Linked DNA regions of Homo sapiens: region 1 is linked to region 2. Evidence: promoter capture Hi-C in 16 types of primary human blood cells and fetal thymus (Javierre and others, 2016). All regions are on one chromosome and are shown on one strand. Each heading gives the region's core, a stretch centred on a gene start or on the middle of the fragment in contact. The rest is flanking DNA. Distances are from core to core; before and after follow the strand shown.

Evidence for each region. Contacts are between HindIII fragments. The CHiCAGO score rates a contact against its expected background, and 5 or more counts as called.
Region 1: a fragment that was not itself captured here is called in contact with the fragment with the promoter of NDUFAF4 in region 2 in 1 of 17 cell types (endothelial precursors); the score reaches 5.2 in endothelial precursors.

What each region holds. Positions count from the first base shown.
Region 1 is chr6:97,437,637-97,440,384 of GRCh38, reverse strand. The region is part of intron 1 of LOC101927314 (a long non-coding RNA gene); the gene reads right to left. Among named protein-coding and RNA genes, the nearest start is that of MMS22L, 160 kb to the right of the region's middle. The HindIII fragment of the contact is 2,278 bases long and covers 122-2,399 here.
Region 2 is chr6:96,896,632-96,899,635 of GRCh38, reverse strand. It overlaps NDUFAF4 (NADH:ubiquinone oxidoreductase complex assembly factor 4), which reads left to right and starts at 1,745. Exons shown (of 3, transcript NM_014165.4): 1 at 1,745-1,970; 2 at 2,789-2,892. The coding sequence starts at 1,835. It also overlaps a transcript of KLHL32 not described here. RefSeq lists an enhancer at 1,823-1,922. The HindIII fragment of the contact is 8,617 bases long and covers 1-3,004 here.

The DNA of each region.
Region 1 (2,748 bases), core at 11-2,510, 540 kb before region 2:
TTATGATTTATTATTATTATTATTATTATTTTGCTTAGGATAAACAGTTCATAGATAATTAGTTTATGCAATATTGAAGGACGTGTCTCTTTTAAATAATTCCTAGGGATTCTCAGAAGCTTCAAAATACAGCCTAGCACCATCTCCTTTAGTTGTGGACCATCTAAAGGTCTGTACCTCAGTTTTATCAGCTATTAGTGGACTGCCTCTACAAATCTCACTCTTTAAAAAATGAAAAATGCATAAAAAACATGCTGAAGAACACTAAAGCTACCACAGTTTGCGATATCGCAATTAAGTGAAGTCTATATCTTTGGTATAATCTATAAGCACTTATAAGTGAAAATGGATTTCCTCATAGAAAAATTTAATACACATCTCCTTGTTCTAGTTTACCATAAACGTAGTCATCAACTCAACAGCCACTGACTAAAATCTCACATTGTGTTCAGCAACGAGGCATATTAAGTGGCAGAAGATATGGTCCTTGCAGTCAATGATTTGCAGGCTTTGAAGAGTGGTATGTATGTAAAAAAATGTTAAATGACATAAGTCAATAGTCAGTCAAGCACTCAATTGAGCATGTGGTATAGTTGCATCTGATATGAGAGAATCAAATGCTGATATTGGAATGATCCTGAATTGCCATTTCTCACTGGTGTTTTACTTTCATTTGGATCACCTATTCCAGTCTCTTAACAACAACAATAACAAAATACAGAACTTGAAAATAATATTTTCTTGTGGCAGGAATATAAAACTCAAGAATGTTGAAAGGAATGCTTCATAAAATTAGCTATACTAAAGGAAACATTATATATATGTGTGTATATATAGACATACATATATATTCCAAATCCCTGATCTAGCAATTTTTAACCTCAATAAAAAGGACTATTTCTATTCAGTAGTAACCAGAGATTTTGATTGAGTTATGCCTCCTAGAGGAAAAAATTATGAGAAACCTGGATATAAAACATTGATTTCTTTATGGTCCAGAAAAAATGTATTTAAGGGAATTTTAAGGTACATATGAGTTAAAAACTATTTATAATATTTCCTCTCTCATTCAGCAAATTTTGGATTTCCAATGTATATTCCAGAAGTCACATTCTCTAAATGAGTAAATAATACAGGCGCGACTTTTTTAAAAAGTGCCTTGTTGTACCTAAGTGCACTGCAGGACATCTGGCACATTTCATTCTGAAATGATGTTTATCCACAGAAATGCCATCAGTGGAAGATGTATTGAAAAGCTGAAGGTCTATTAAGGGAGTATGGGACAGCTGCATACATTCTGTAATCTGTATAAGGCCATGGAAATGACACAGCAATACCCCATCTGTGGCTTTGGTTTACAGAGCTTTGAATAAAAATTCAAGATCAAACTTCACTTGTTACAGAAAAGAAGAATGCTAAAAGAAAGCTGGTATTAATGGGCTCAAATATAAAGGTCTGTTACTGTTACCTTTCTCCTTAATATAAAATATTTTATGGAATTTCTACACCTTCAATAAATACTAATATTATATATTCACCCCTTAATGTTATTTGAAAAACTGCTTGTGGAGAACTACAGTTTGCACTTTTATAATTTAGGCCATTTGTGAATAGGCTTAAAACTTGCAGAAGTGCTAGGACGGAGTAGGGCAGATGTTCAAACTTCCCTATTTGGGCCTGCCAAGTCCTTCATTCTGGACCTACAATACCCCAGCCAATTCAAAACTCAATGTCTCTTAATAGAGATTACTAATCAAGCTGATTTATGTGGTAGTTTAGGAGGTGGGGTCATTCTTTTTTTAGTGGTGTTGTTTCTAAAGAAAGTTTAATGCTCACAAAAGCCTCAGATTGACAGCTCCACAAAATGGAAATTCACAGAACAGAAGTATCACATGCTAGGGGGATACAGCCACCCCTTATGCTAACCTGCCAATTCACAATTTCAACCTGCAAGGATCTGCCACCGAATTCAAGAGATTAATTCAGTCCCTGTGCCCGTTCAATCCTTTGCCAATAAGGAGGCCAATTAGTTTCAACTACACTGGTTAGTTTACTTCTGCCTTTATTTTTTTCTAACGGGGGCATTTTCTCTCCATCATTTGGATGATTTTGACCCCCAATTCATTTCAGGTTACTATGAAATGGCTGTCAATCACTTGAAACCAAAGCCTAATGTGACCCAAGGCCTGAGGTGAAAAGTTCAGTCATTAGATATTGAAACCATCCAGCTCTCTACTGTGGTGAGTTTCATACAGCTCACAGGAAAACAACAATGAAATTCATAATATTAATAAGTTCAAACTCATATTGTAAATCTCTATTTAAAAATGACAGTCAACTAATTAACACGTTTAGCTGGCCTCAGTTAACTTCCAGTCTAAAAATGTCAATTGGAAGCTTTCATTAACTCATATATATATTTCTTTTGTGCATTCATAAAATAAATATATCTCAGAAAAGTTATATTTTTGTCAAGAATTAAAATATTCACCATATTGAATTATGACTTAAATTTCATTTTAGCCTTATATTCCTAGAAAATAAAGTCTCAGTAATGCTATAAAAGTGCAATGTTACCAAAAAAAGGTAAAGATACTTCTGAGATTTTTTTAATTTAGCAAATGAAAATATTCGATGCAAATATGGTGCTACTAACACCTGAACTCCGAAGGATAGTAGAGAGATGAAAGAATAAACAAATAAATTGAAGAATAATATATTCTTAGTAGGGAGTAAATGTGTAGGATT
Region 2 (3,004 bases), core at 496-2,995:
GGGCCTGAGCAGCACTGGGCCAGGATCAGGCAAAGCAGCTGACACATGCTGGAAGCTCTTTCAATGTTGAATCCAAGCTCTATTGGAATGTGTGAATTCAAATAATTATTTCATATTGTAATCCCTACTGTCCTGACAGTCACTTCTAACATTACTTTTTCATACTGCCCGAAGTTCGGTGGAATTTCTATGAAAATGAGATTTTCACTTTTAAAATATTTTAACAGGCAGTGAGTCGAATTGCTACCATGATTAAAGCACATAGACATAATGAGGCAGATTAAAATTTCTTAGCACCCATAGAAATAGAAATACCGTGCCTAAAAAGCCCTGAATCACAAGCATGCTTAAAAGTATCAAAGATAGAAATCTTGGAGCAGCCTGCCACCTTCAGGATAACTTCCCAGTTAATGCTATCTGAGATCACTGATTTCAGCTTCTATAAATTCCAAATACCAATCCCTGTAAAAATGTTCAGTATAATTAAATAAAGGGCATTTAAATTAGAGTGGCTGAAGCCGTCTTCCTTGCAGTGCTTTTGCTCTGATTAAGCATTATACTTAATGATTACATTAGTTTTCTTTTTAAAAAACTTTCCCTTTCTTCATTTTGGTTCTTTGATTCTTGTTTTATTATTATTATTCTATTCGATTATCTTTACATCAATATTTTCTTACTTTAAGCTGGTTAAAAACATCCACTCTACTTCATTTTGCTAAGCAGAGATCAGAACACTAAAAATAGATTTTGCAGCCACAGTAAGAGAAATACTGTAACTTCCTTCCTACTGCTTCCTTCCTGGTGGGTTTTATTTTAGATTAATAACAATATTTCTAAAGGGTCTTAAATAAAAGCAGCACTACAGTAACCCATTCAGGAAATGGAGAGAGACGGAGAAGGTGAATGTAACACTCGTTTTTTTGTTTGTTTGTTTTTTTTTTCTGACGTCTTATTGTCTGTTCCTTTCATTAAATTACACAGAGGCTTAAAAAGAATGAAGAAGGCAAGAGAGAAGAGAAATAGGAGAGGGAATGACTCAGCATTTAGTAGCATGGAGAAGTAAATTAGTAGCAAAAATAAGATAAGGGAAAGTATAACTAAAATCGATACCATTAGGTCAAATGAGAACGGGATGTAAAAAATAATGGAAAAAGAATACAGTGGCTTGAAAATGCATCAGGCGGGGGGACAGGAAAATAAGAGGCATTTAAATGAGAGCGGCTGAGAACAAATACTCATCGAAAGGGAACATCCTTTCATTATTTTCCTTTCACAAAAGCAGGAAAGGGCAACTTGAGAGCCCAGTTTGACCCTGGTTCAGTAAGTTCCATTTTTATCGGCTAACTCTTTGGTGGCATTGCCCTGTGAAACAACTTCAAGGTCAACTTCCTTACGACTTTGATTTTCAGCTCTTCACTGAAACTTTGGAATCACGTGGAGTCTTATCCAATGCTGGGCCTCACTCCACAAGAATTAAATCAGAAAGTCTGGGGTAGGGCCCGGCACAGAACTTTACAGAGCTTCCCGGGTGACTCCCTCGGAGTTCCAGCGTTAAAAGCAACCGTGGGTCTGGGGACTTAAGCCCCGCCACCTCCCGCCGGAAGCGGCCCTCGTGGGAGCCGTCACTCGCCCCGAAGGGAGGGGCTCCCTTTTAAATGCCCTGGGCAGAGAAGCGGTGTGTGGCCTCCCGAGCGCTAGGGGGCGACGGGCACGCATTTAAGCGCCCGCGGCGGGGCTTCCCCTCACTTGTGCGCATGCTCCGGGTGTCCCGGAGTTGTCCTGCGCCGGTGTTCCCACGTGCGGCCTGAACCTGAGCGCATAATGTTATGAGGAGATGGGAGCACTAGTGATTCGCGGTATCAGGAATTTCAACCTAGAGAACCGAGCGGAACGGGAAATCAGCAAGATGAAGCCCTCTGTCGCTCCCAGACACCCCTCTACCAACAGCCTCCTGCGAGAGCAGATTAGTCGTGAGTGGTGCGAGGGCGTTTCGGGGCCCGGGGGCGCGGAGTCCCTGTGCTGCCCGGCTGTCCCTAGCGTGGGTCCGGAGGCCGAGGGATCGGCGTCAGCCTGCTCGGCCGCAGCCGCTCGGGTTGGCGGAGCGTTGGAAGGGGGAGCCGCCAGGCCGGTGACATTGAGACTGTCCTCCGCGCCCGCGGTGAGGTCGGCGGCCCCGCCTACTTCCGAGACCCAGAGGCAGCAGCCAGTGCTCCCGCTAACCAGGCCCTCGCCGGCTGCTGTCACGGACTTGATACAGGGAATCAAAATCCGAGAGGGTCACAGAGCTTTCTCTAGGGGTCTTCACTGGACGATGGACGCAGAGCCTGACCTGGAATTTTGATTTCCATCTAAAGTATTTTCCTAACAGTCCAAATGATTATGTTTATTTTTTAAAAAAATTAAAGTGGTTAGGCCGGGCGCGGTAGCTCAAGCCTGTAATCTCAGCACTTTGGGAGGCCGAGGCGGGCAGATCACCTGAGGTCAGGAGTTCGAGACCAGCCTGGCCAACATGGCTAAACCCCGTCTCTACAAACAATGCAAAAATTAGCCGGGCGTGGTGGCGCGCCTGTAGCCTCAGCTTGTCGGGAGGCTGAGGTGGGAGAATCTCTCGAACCCGGGAGGCGGAGGTTGCAGGGAGCCGAGATCGCGCGACTGCACTCCAGTCTGGGCAACAGAGCGAGACTCCGACTCAAAAAAGAAAATAAAAGAAAGCGTTTGTGTTAAGCGTTTAGGATATTACAGGAAATTTTCCTTGATTTTAATATTGTGACTTTTTTCCTTTCCTTAGTCTATCCAGAAGTTAAAGGAGAGATTGCTCGTAAAGATGAAAAGCTGCTGTCGTTTCTAAAAGATGTGTATGTTGATTCCAAAGATCCTGTGTCTTCCTTGCAGGTAAATGTGTGTTTAATTAAGTGAATACACAATTTACTTATTTTGGGGCTTCAGGAAAATGATTAAGTGTGGCAAGTAGTAAAAAGAGTGCTCTGCAAGTGTGTGTTGTGAT